Regions from separate parts of the Homo sapiens genome. Here region 1 is linked to region 2. The links are contacts of gene promoters, found by promoter capture Hi-C in blood cells and fetal thymus (Javierre and others, 2016). All regions are on one chromosome and are shown on one strand. The core of a region is centred on a gene start or on the middle of the fragment in contact, and the rest is flanking DNA. Distances in the headings are between cores, read along the strand shown. Region 1 overlaps FRMD4A (FERM domain containing 4A). Region 2 holds the start of PRPF18 (pre-mRNA processing factor 18).

Region 1 (6,097 bases), core at 2,473-4,972, 600 kb before region 2:
TCTTGTTCTGAATTCATCCCTCTGTTTTTACATTCACTCTACAAGTTTCCATTGCACACTCTGTGTGTGTGTGTGTGTGGGTGGGTGGGTGGGTGTATGTATGTATGTGGTAAAACACCAAGAATTAAAAAGCAATGAAATGTGACATTTCCGTTTTCTGGAAGTTTGGTTTGTGATTAATAAGACAAGGTCTCTGGACCCGAAAGTGTTAAGTAAAAATATCAGCAAAGGCTCACTAATGCTTCCATTGCACAGTTCCTGATGTGAGGCACATCACTTGGTGCATTAGTCTCAGTTGATGGATTGATTAATTAAGAGGCAACCTATCAGGGAGAAAGCAAGGTAAAGTACTGTTCATTGGTTTACAGACAGTCTAATGTATTTAGAAATCATCAGGAGTAAGACTGTGTTCTTCCCAAGATCATGATTACCAGAAATCCCATTCAAACAAAAAATAAAATTAGCCATGGATGGCCCAGGGTAGAATTTCTGAAAACAGTATTTAACTTGACCTAGATATTGACAAGGATAACAGTGCAGTCCTTGATGTTGGAGTCAGCAAATACACGCTGTTACTCTTTATTTCTTTTTGTGGCATTACTGTCTGTGCAAATATATTTAGTTCATATTGCTATGTACACAGCAGTGACAACTGCACCCTATTGGTGTGATTAGAAATGCAACAGTGAATAAATAAATCATCCTTTGTGACCCCTGGAAGAAAAAGTTGATGCAAAAATGCTTAAAAACTCTTTGAAGGAATTCATTACGTTTTAGAATTCAGTAACCTAGAGGGGAGATGTTCATTCCTGGAAACTCACAGAATAAAATCACACCTTGGTAATACCATGTTCACTGATGTACTTGAGCTTATTGTATAATACTGTGGAGGGAACAAGAAGGCTCTTCTTTGGAGAGGTTTAAGGAGGAGATGAAAATACATAAGTCCAAGAGATCCTGAAGCTCTCTTAAGGAAAGAGGTTAAAAAAAGAAGGTTCTTAATACACATGAAGATTTGGAGAGGCTGATGCTGCAAGAATAAAAGGAATGTGGAGGAATTTATCTCACAACAGTGCACCACTGTAACAGGTTTCTTTTAGCAGAGTTTTGTTATGTGAATGTATATTTCCTGATATTTACACTTTCCCATTTTTGCTTCTAAGCTAATTAGGTTATAAGAGCTGTTACTCTAAACAAGTTAATCAATCTCTTTCAACATCTTCCAAATAAGATAAGCAAAACAGGTGTGTGTGGATACACACTGATATTCAAAATGGTCTGTGTATACAGCTACACAAAACCCAGTTAGCAATTCTTACAAAGAAAAAAGTGGAGAATTAGATATGTTATTCTCCATCCAAAAGAATGATTTCATATAAAGCCTAGAAAAGTCAGTGAATTGGAATTCCCTTGGATGATAAGGGGATGGTGACTTTCAGGGATAAAAACCACCAAGGAGGTAGCTGTGCACCTTTGGCTGGGGCTCAGAATTGTTGATTATTAGCAACTCTGGCTTAAAGTGTGGTCAGTTAAGACCAGTGGAGGTTAAAGCCTGGTTGAAATGTCAACCGGGGATGTGAAAAAGTGGTCTGGTGGAAGTGGAGACAGTGAGTGAGAAAATAATTTTAATTATAGAATAAAGAAAAAACAGGAAGCAAGAATGAAGAAACATCTAGGAAAGTATAGAAAGAGTTGTAATCACTCATGAGGAGATGAAGCATTTGCCAGGAGAGAGAGAGAGAGAGAGAAAAAAAAAAAACAGCCAGTTGAGCTGAAAACTCCTATCTAAATATGAAAGCAGGGAATATATTCTGAGGCTGGAAATATTCATCAATGTGTTAAATGTCACACATTCTAAAAATATGAGATAGATTTCAACGGCCCTATAGTTAAAGACTGATGATTGGAATATCGCTTTTATGATGCCATAGCAATTCACATGGTTCTTAAGTCTCCATAGCAACAGCCGATACTACTTTTTGTTCTCTTGTGTAGTCACATGATGCTGGATGCACTGCATAAACAGAGGGGAGCGGTCGATTGTATTTCTCAATTAGTGACAGAGAGACCAGGGGTCATGAGACAGGACTTTTATTGGGATTGGTCCTGGGTCTTGTAAACTATGGCTGTCCCTTGATATCCTTTCTCTTAGGAGCTGGCACTTCTACTGGCTGTTCACCTTTGACCCCATTAGCCTCTGCTTTCTCTCAACGACTGTTGTTTTATGAGTTGTGTGTCCATTTAGATAAAATTCTCTCAAAGCAGAAGACCCTTTCTGTTTGGGATTCCCAACTGAAACCATGCCCCAAAGAGTTAAAGAAGCCAATGGCTAACTTCTTGGGCTTAGAGGATAACACACATAAGAAAAGCAAAAACTTGCTGAAAAGCTGAAACTGAGACTATGCCCCCAAGAGTACAACCAGTAACTAACAAAAATTCTTGAGTGTGCAGGTTAACATATAAGACAAGAAACCTCTCACTGCGACACTAAAACTCTCTCCACCTGTGAGATAAAAGAACTGGCTAAAGTTGGTTGGAACCAATATGGCTGACTGGGGTCTGCACGGAACCAGCTTGCTGACCTCACAGCCTGAATTCCCACCCATGTTTCACACTAACTTCCTCCAAATTTGCACACAAAGCCCCAGGAGGCATCACGAATAGATAACTGCGCATGCCCAAGGACTTTCCAGACTTCCTGCTTCCTTCCATCAGTCACCTGCTTATCCCCAAATCCACCCCCTGAAACTTTTCCATTAAAAAATACTGCCTTGGAGCCAGCACAGATAGACAGATTTGAACTTGACTCCTGTCTCCTTGTGAGTAGACTTGCAATATAAAGCTTTTCTTTTCTCAAAAATCCAGTGTTGACAGATGCCGGGGCTCACGCCGGTAATCCCAGCACTTTGGGGGACCAAGGTGGAAGGATTGCTGGAGGCCAGGAATTTGAGGCCAGACTGGGCAACACAAGAAAACTCCAGCTCTACAAAAAATTTATTAGCCAGGTGTGATAGCATGTGCCTGTGGTCTCAAATACTTGGGAGGCAGAGGTGGTCTCAGCTACTCGGGAGGCAGGATCGCTAGAGCCTTGGAGACTGAGGCTGCAGTGAGCTATGATGGCACCACTGCACTCCAGCCTGGGCAACAGAGCAAGACCCTGACTCTAAAAAATGAACAAAAAACAAACAAACAGAAAACCCGGTGTCATAGTATCGGCTTCCAGCACATCCAGCAGTGAGCCCTTTTTTCTGGTAATACAGTTGTCTTGAAAATGGTAGAACTACCAACATGAGAGGGGTGGTCATTTGCTGTGAAGAAACTACTGTTTTCACTTCAGGATGAGCAACAAACTCGTCTGCTAGGGCGAGGGCATACTGTTGCATCAGAATCTGTTCCACAGTTTTTCTGTCTGTAAAATGGGAGTGATAACCAAAACCGTTTTCTTAGTCAAAGGGTAGTGTCTATGAGACATTTAGACAAGTTTTGTCAAATATATTTTGGAAAGTGGTGTACGTGTGGGGAGAACCTGATTTACTGCCTTAGGCTTATGTATTAGAGGTATCAAGGTGCTTCATGTTTTAGCCTAGAGTCAGAGAGCGCCCTATGAAGTTTGCAAGCATAATTAAGATAGATAGAAATCTCTCCTGAGCTCTCATTAAATTTATAAGGATTTTCCTACTGAGGCCGACTCAAATTCCCAACACTTTTGCCATTGTTCTCATTAATGAGCATCAGGCTGAGTTAAGATCTGTCTAAACTCACCTTGACATTGGCTGTTTTTCAGTGGCAGTCAGAAGTTTATGGGCTCTAGTCCTAAGTGATGACACTAACATCTGTTACCCTGACTGAATCAATTCCCTCTTTTTGTTTATTTTTTTCTTTATAGGAGAGGATATTTATACAAGAACAAAGAATGTTACTTGGTACAGAGAAGGCAGTCTGTAAATATTCATTATCTTCCTCCTCTTTTTTCTTTTTTGAAATGGAGTTTCACTCTTGTTGCCCAGGCTGGAGTGCAATGGTGCAATCTCAGCTCACTGCAACCTCCGCCTCCCAGGTTCTAGCAATTCTCCTGTCTCAGCCTCCCGAGTAGCTGGGATTACAGGTGCCCGCCACCACACCTGACTATTTTTTGTATTTTTAGTAGAGACCAGGTTTCATCATATTGGTCAGGCTGGTCTTGAACTCCTGACCTCAGGTGATCCACCCACCTCTGCCTCCCAAAGTGCTGGGATTACAGGCGTGAGCAACCGCGCCGGGCCCATTCTCTTCCTCCTCTTACCCCTTTTTCCACCTCAAATTCTTGCATTTCTGGCATTTTGCTATTGGGATTTCAAAGGTTTGCCAATGATGTAGGCATGTTTGGAGCTAAGGGTGACATCGTAGCAATGCTGCAGCATCATCACTGACGCGAGATGTTAAGCTCTCACTGTCTATAGGACACCATACACAGAGGTGGAAATACACAGCCATGAGACCTTGTGCTTGAGGGTTAAAATACAGATCAGGGTTAAAAGATAACAGCACAAGGTAACTTAAGCTAAATGTCAAACAGGCAGTGAAGACAAACAGAGGTGAGCTGGGTTGCTCAGGGAAAGCTTCCCAGAAAGGAGTTGTTTTGGGCGGGATTTTGTTTGGTTTTGTTTTTGAGACAAAACCTCGCTCCGTTGCCCAGACTGGAGGTCAGTGCTGCAATCACCGCTCATTGCTGCCTTAACCTCCCAGGCTCAGGCGATCCTCCCACCCCAGCCTCCCAAGTTACTGGGACCACAGGCGCATGCCACTGGTGCTCAGCTAATTTTTTGATTTTTCGTAGGGACGGGGTCTCACTATGTTGCCCAGGTTTGTCTCAAACTCCTGGGCTTAAGTGAGCCTTCCACCTCAGCCTCTCAAAGTCTGAGCTACTGTGCGCAGCCAAGGAAAGGAGTTGATGAGGACTTTGAAGAAAGCTAATGTCTATTGAGGGCTTATTAAGTAATGGACATTGGGTCTTGGCCTGCTTTATCTCTTTGATTAAAGTTTGGATTCTGGAAAAGGACCTAAAGGTAGAAAGGTGGGACTGATTGAAGAGGGAATGATTGGATAATGAGTTTGGCAGGCGGGAGGCAAATAGGAAAGGAGACGGCACATGATTCTAAAAGCCAAAGTGAAGAGCTTGTATAATGAGAAGCTATTATACATTTTCAATAGGGAGTGCTATGTGCCCAATTGTAGGATTTCAGTGGGAAGCATTCAAGTCTGAGAAAAGCAACCAAACCACACAAAGAGCCCAGGCAGCAAGCAGGTCATGGGTCCTTGGCACAGGGGGAGAGGCAGGCGTCCAGAAAGGTTGACTTGAGAATCCAGTCATTTTTTATTTGATTCCAGGCATTTTGTGGAAAAGGTCCAGTAAGTAATGAAATAAGTCATTTTTACATGAAAAACAAAAGGCTGACCAGAAGAAAGATTAGCATCAAGGACAGCACCTGGAGAGTCTAAGGAAGGAGCTCCTTTGGGGGAAAGGAGGTTAGAGTTTTAAGTGTATTCAGCATGGAGAGGCTACAAGGAGGTGGAGATACCTTCCCAATAGGACACTAGAGATGGGAAAATTGTATTGTGGGAGCTGCCTGAATGCATTCCATCGTCATCTCCCGGGAAAACTGGGAACCCCACTGTCCCAAGGCCCATAAAGCTAATGGCATGTTTTATGTCTCTGTTTTACATCTTTATTTCCCCCTAGTGAAATATGGAATCAAAGAAAACCAAATTTCCCAAGTCTACTTCTAACCCCCAAAATAAATATTTTACCAAGTATTTATTGAGTTCCTTCTCTGTGACAGCATTCTGCTCATTGCTGCCTTAACCTCCCAGGCTCAGGCGATCCTCCCACCCCAGCCTCCCAAGTTGCTGGGACCACAGGCGCATGCCACTGGTGCTCAGCTTATTTTTTGATTTTTCGTAGGGACGGGGTCTCACTATGTTGCCCTCCCAGCCACTGTATCTGGCTGATCTTTTTCTATGTCAATTTGGGGGTAAATGGAGAAAGGCATGGGATATAGGTCGAAGCAAATGTCCATGGAGCGTTCTCTAAGTCAGTCATTCCACGATAATGGCTCTG
Region 2 (6,649 bases), core at 1,303-3,802:
GCAGCCAGAGGGAGCCAGTTTCTCTAAACAAATTTACTCCTTATGATAAAGGAGTAAAATTACTATTTTTATTAAGTCTTGATCTTTGGCCATATCTTTTTAATATTATGTGACAAAACAGGAAAGATGCATACAACAATTCTCATTTATACTAAAGTTTGCTGGTTGTGTGGAGGAAAGTAATTGAGTTGCAAGCTAAACTGGCTTTTTCACGGAATACCATTTTTACACTTAAGAACACCCGGCAAACCATGGTTCTTCAGACTTGGGTATTTGGCAGACAACTTCCCCAAACTGAACAAAGTGAGCAGATCACTTCAAGAAAATAACTGATAATATTTGTTGCCTATGATAAAATTCCAGCTTCCAAGTGGAAATTAAGTGTGGTGAACTTAGATCTGTCATCAGGAGCCTGACAGTTTCCTAATGCTTACAGATGTTTCTCAGATCAGTGGATATTAAATGAAGTGATCTTTTCATATTTTGTAATGAAATGTGTCAACAGGTGGGAGACCTGCATAATTCAGTAACCCAATGTTTTCCAAATGATCGATCAGTGAGTATTTTTAACGTTTCTCAGTTTTAACTTCTAATATGGTAAATACGGATAGAAATAACACATAAACAAAAGTCCTTCAAGATCTTCAGTAACTTTTAAGAGTGTGAAGGGGTCCTGAGACCAAAAGCTTTGAGAACCAGCGGTCTAAGTTACTGCTACACAATAAAGTAAGGGAGATCATCTTCAGGAAGTTCCTAAATCATGTAATTCTTTCTCCCCCTTTTTAGTACCTTTCCAAAAGAGTCTTAGCATTCCCATCAGTGAAGAGCAGGCCTACAGACTTTTCATGTGTTGAAGAAGAGAGAAGGAGGAGGAATAGAATTTAAAAAATTGGGATTTACTATTAGAAAGGAATTTTATTACTTTTTTTTTTTTTTTTTTAGAGACAGGGACTCGGTCTCTCACCCAGGCTGGAGTGCAGTGGCACGATGATAGCTCACTGCAGCCTGAACTCCTGGGCTCAAGCGATCCTCCCGCCTTGGTCTCCCAAGCAGCCGGGACTAGACGCGCGCACCACCACACCTGGCTAGAAGGAATTTTTTTTTTTTTTTGAGACGGTGTCTCACTCTGTCGCCCAGGCAGGAGTGCAGTGGTGCGATGTCGGCTCACGGCAACCTCCGCCTCCCGGGTTCAAGTGATTCTCTGGCCTCAGCCTCCTGAGTAGCTGGGATTACAGGCGCGCACCACCACGCCCAGCTAATTTTGGTGTTTTTAGTAGAGACGGGGTTTCACCATGTTTGCCAGGCTGGTCTCGAACTCCTGACCTCAGGTGATCTGCCCACCAAAGTGTGGGGATTACAGGTGTGAGCCACCGCGCCCGGCGGCCCTTCCTCCATGTTTCAGTTGGGCACAAACCCTTCGTAAGGCGACAGAAGGGAACTCTCAGGAGCACTGGGGCACGTCCGCAGAATGCCAACAGGTAGGAGCGGGGATAGGGGGCAGTTAGGTAAACTGGAGGGAAACAGGGTCAGTCGGGGGAAAACAAACAAAGCCTCGGGTTTTCCTGCAATTCCCACACCTGCATCCCTAAGGCTCCCAAGTGGTTACCGGAAAGAAGGCCGTGAGTGTAAGTTGCCCGGGTCCTTGGCGTTTTGAACAAAGAATTGGACAAAACGCACAAAAAAAGTAACAAAACACAGGAATGAAGCAGCAAAAGTAGGGACTTATGAACGCGAGAAAGCACTCCACAGGGTGTGAGTGGGCCCGAGCAAGCGGCTCGAGGCCCCGGTTACAAAGTTTTCCGGGTTTTAGGTACTCCTTCTGAGGTCCCTATCAGCTACCCCGTATCTGGATGAAGGGTTCGGTCTGTGGCTAAAGACTGAGGTGAACTGGCGCCCTATGCAGATGAAGGGATGGCCCGTGATTGGCCCACGGCCAATGCAGGGCACGTTCCCTTCCCATCTGAGAGGTGGTGGAAAGGCAGGGATGCGGGGAGAGCCGCAGCCTGAAGCCTTTGCTACTCGGTGGTGGGAAGATGAGGATTTTTCTTTTGGTTTGGCTTTTGGACGTGGGCGTTAATTGGCCTCAGGTTCCCGCCCCCAGACCCAGGTGTTTTCCTTTTGATCCAGCTTTGGGAAGTCAGCACGAATTGTACTCAAGTTCCCTGCTCTCAGACCCTATTCTCCAGCCTCAACAGTGAGACGCCAAGGGTTGGATCTAAGGGGGCCTACCAGGGGTAGTGGCAGGACACTCGCTAAGCCCCGTCCCCGCCCCGAATCCTCTGAGTATCGTCACCCTCACCCCAAAACCCCGACACACATACTCTCACTCTTACATCCCGACCCCCACGACCGCAGGGTCCTCACCACCAGCAGGTTCCTGTCCTCCACCAGCTGCCGCTTCCGAAGGATCTCTGATTTCAGAATGTCCATCTCGCCGCCAGAATTTAAGCTCCAGTTTCCCGCTCCAGCTCCTCGAACCCAGCCTCACTGGGCCGGCGGCCGCGAACCCACTGAGTATACGGAACAACAAGCCCAAACACCTGAGAACAACTGACAGGAGCCGCTTCCGGCGGAAGCTGGGATGAGAGAGATGAGGGAAGAGAGTGGCCCGGGGCGCCTGTGGTGGCCAAAGCAGCTGTGCGTGAGTGCCCACTGGCGGCGCCCTCCGGCAGCGCGCCTGTAGTTTCCCCTCGTAGGGAGGTTTACGTGAACGTGGACGGAAACCCGGGTCTTTGTAGTACTCTCTGCACCTGCTAGTTGAGTTCCAAAAGCCTCTCGAAGAACACCTCAATAATGCCAGTTAAATCAAGATCTTTATTAACTGGAAATTTACATTAGGGTTTCTGAAGTTACTTGCTTGCAAAATTTGCAAAAGGATGAGAAAAATCTAAACAATAATACTAACTTGTAACAATAGAGTGAAAGGGCTGTCTGTTCATTACTAGCCTGTTAAATTTCCTGTGAACTTAAACGACTACAACCATTTAAAGCAGTTTGGAAGTCAATTTATCTTCACTCCCTCTGTTTTAGATTGCTTACCAATCTTGGTGATAATTGAACATTTACCTCAAGCTAACTAATCATTTTTTGGTCATGTGTTCAGCAATCAAGATTTTTCAGTGACATGATTGGAGATGTAATCAGAAATTCCTTTTTTTTTTTTAAATCCAACCCAAGGGAAAAAAAGTTAAATTGAAGAGAAAAATTATGTCAGAGATTTTTTAAGTCCCTAACATTTGTTTACAGTGGACTTATTTTTTTCATGTCATTGAAGCACGTTTAAAAATTGTTTTTGTGAAATCATAATTGAACAATATTTGACATTTCGTTTTTCTTACTCAAAAAAGGTAAGAAATATCATTTTGTTGAGTCAGCTGATAATGGGTAAAATGCTTTACAAAACAAAAAAATGAACAATTGAATTATTTCAATTTAGAAAGTCTTTTGTGGGGGGTGATACTTCATCTAAAAGATATCTGAGGCCAGACGGGGTGGCTCACCCCTGTAATCCCAGAACTTTGGGAGGCCGAGGTGGACAGATCACCTGAGGTCAGGAGTTCAAGACCAGCCTGGCCAGCATGGTGAAATCCCGTCTCTACTAAAAATACAAAAATTAGCCAGGCGTGGTGGCAGGTGCCTATAGTCCTAGCTACTCAGGAGGCTGAGACAGGAGAATTGCTTGAATCCGGGAGATGGAGGTTGCAGTGAGCCGGGATCATGCCACTGCAGTCCAGCCTGGGTGATAGAGCAAGACTTTGTCTCAAAAACAAAACAAAATAAAATAAAATATACCTGACTTTTGCCAGAAATAAGCCAACACAGGAAAATGTCCTTGAACTAAATATGGCAACACTCTTGCATGAATATGGGTTTCCCTCACTAATCAATGAGCAAATAATAATTTATTAGCATTTTCCTGATTTAGGGATTAGGGATTGTTAGACACAAAAAAAACCTGAAGGGTTAAGACAGATGACAGTAACAGCAATGGAAGTTTACAGAGAACACAACGGCTGGCTACCTGGGAAACTGTCAGTGTAAACCAGAGAAGTTACTAGCTACAGTTAACAGCCTCCCCTTACATTTTAGACTTTCATTGATTTCTACGTTTATGTAAACATGTGCACTGAATCCTGATTAAGGCCTGAGATCAAAGAGTGATAGAGAGAAATACTTGAACAAGCAACTGACAAGCAAGCTTTTCCATTCAAAAGGAAGGAAAAAAGATATCCAGGAGCTTTTAGAAATACTTAAAAGAGGCCGGGCACAGTGGCTCACGCCTACAATCCGAGCACTTTGGGAGGCCAAGGCAGGCGGATCAGCTGAGGTCAGGAGTTTGAGACCAGCCTGGCCAACATGGTGAAACCCTGTCTCTACTACAAAAATAGCCGGGCTTGGTGGCACACACCTGTAGTCCCAGCTATTCAGGAGGCTGAGGCAGGAGAATCGCTTTAACCCGGGAGGCGGAGGTTGCAGTGAGCCAAGATCGCGCCACTGCACTCCAGCCTGGGTGACAGGGCAAGACTCTGTCTCAAAAAAAAAAAAAAAAAAAAAAAAGAAAAGAAAAGAAACACTTAAAAGAACAAATCGCCGTGACCCTAAGAGAGACCATATTCATTTAAAAAAACATGCATCCCATTTCATCACAATCATTATTTAAAAAGTGAAATATTGGGACTGGGTACAGAGGCTCACACTTGTAATCCCAGCACTTTGGGAAGCCAAGGCAGGAAGATCACTTGAACCCAGGAGTTCAAGGCTGCAGTGAGCATTGATCGCACCACTGCACTCCAGCCTGAGTGGCAGAGTAAGACACTGTCTCTAAAACAAAAATAAATAAATGAGAGATAAAAATGAAAAATTGGAAACAACCCAAGTGTTCTAAATGGAGGAATAGTTAAATAAAATATAGTTTATACACACAACCAAATAACATGGCATCATTAAAAACCATGTTTTTAAAAATTCAATGGTATGGGAATGCTCATGATACAATGTTCGGTCCAAAAGTAGCATAATGAAACTTTATAGCATATAGTCTCTGCTTTTTAACAAAAACATAGACATATGCTTCTTAACAAAAACATATAGACGTAATAAAACATTGATTGGAAGGAAACATACCAAAATATCAAGTTTTTATCTGGACAGTAGAACAATTGGGGATTCTTATTTTCTGCTTTTTACCACAATTTGGTACAAATCTCATAATATGGGGGGAAAATTCAGGTATCAGTCTTTTTCTGTTTAATTATTATTTAGACTATTTATAAATTTTCTAGCATGTCTATTTTAGACATTGTATATGATAAATTTTGAAGAGTATAAAAGAAAGCAAAGAATTAGATAAAGAATTTTTTAAATTTCCATAGTTATTCAATCTAATATTTAAATATCTTATATATGAGCTCTATACTACATTAGCTTCTGTGACCTAAACCAAAACATAGACCCTGCCCACAAAGAGATAGCCAGTTAGTTGGGGAATCAAGAAATAGACCTTAAAAAGTTAAATTTTGTAAGATTTAATAGTGTATATGTGGCTATAATTTCAGAAATTAAAAATCAGTCATCTTCTAAAAGAAAAAAGGGTAAAAATCAGTACAGGATTGATGAGATATTCCTCTGTAGAGGTAACTCATCCTAGGAAATTATTTGTCATTTCTGGAGACTGGAGGGAAATGCCAAATTGAATCAGGATCACCTGGATTTGTTTTGTGGCTGCCCTAAAAGATGGAATGTAACTTAAACAGCAAAGAAAAGCTCTATGATTCAATACAGTGGCTCTCAATCCTTAACATGCTTCAGGATAACCTGGAGGACTTTTTGAAACACAGACGGCTGGTCCCCAACCCCAGAAATTGTCTTTCCATAGGCTTGGGGTGGGACCCAAGATTTTGCTTTTTGAACAAACTCCCAAGGGAGATGGATGCTGTTGATCCAGGGACCTCATTTTGAGAACTGCCGACCTAATATATTATTTTGTCATCTCCTGCGGGGGAAAAAGTGCATTTGCAGTCTGAAATGCAGTCTGCACAAGTCTTCAGAATTGGAGCAGAGCGGGAAGGCTGGTCGGTGGTGTCTGCAGCACGGTCACAGGCACCTCAAAGGGCACCCGTCCACTCCCAGTAATGCTGCTTCTGGGAATTTCCTAATGGCAAGGGAGCAGGCTCCCTCCAGATCCAGCCACCTTTACAAAACTGCTTTGTAGGGTTAGACCACAGAGAATGACTTCTCCAATCTGGGACAATCAGAGTCCCTTCCCTAGAAAACTAAAACTGGAATGGAGTGGATCCTTCCAAGACTCAGGATATATAAAATGTGAATTCCAGAGTGATAGCCACTTCAGCCAGGCTGGTGCATACCGTCCCACAAGAGCCAATTGTTACATTTTTGAGAATTTTGTGTCAGTTGTCAAACTTAGCAATTATTAAAAATCAAATGAGTTTACTTGTAATCAAATAAATCATATTATAAACGAAGTTAATAAATACACAGAACCTAATTCTTATTTTACTACATTTTTACTCTTATGCTCTTGGAGTTATTTATGACTGTTGTATCTTTGTGGTGGAAATACTATAAAATGGTGGCTCCTGCAGACCTCTTACCAGTTCCAGGCTTGAGGACCCCACCTTGGCAACTGGAA

What was found. Contacts are between HindIII fragments. The CHiCAGO score rates a contact against its expected background, and 5 or more counts as called.
Region 1: a fragment that was not itself captured here is called in contact with the fragment with the promoter of PRPF18 in region 2 in 1 of 17 cell types (total B cells); the score reaches 5.0 in total B cells.

What each region holds. Positions count from the first base shown.
Region 1 is chr10:14,187,457-14,193,553 of GRCh38, reverse strand. The region is part of intron 2 of FRMD4A (FERM domain containing 4A); the gene reads left to right. Among named protein-coding and RNA genes, the nearest start is that of FRMD4A-AS3, 120 kb to the right of the region's middle. The HindIII fragment of the contact is 1,756 bases long and covers 2,845-4,600 here.
Region 2 is chr10:13,582,868-13,589,516 of GRCh38, reverse strand. It overlaps PRPF18 (pre-mRNA processing factor 18), which reads right to left and starts at 2,552. Exons shown (of 10, transcript NM_003675.4): 1 at 2,365-2,552. The coding sequence starts at 2,430. RefSeq lists enhancers at 1,487-2,082, 2,258-2,597. The HindIII fragment of the contact is 3,512 bases long and covers 689-4,200 here.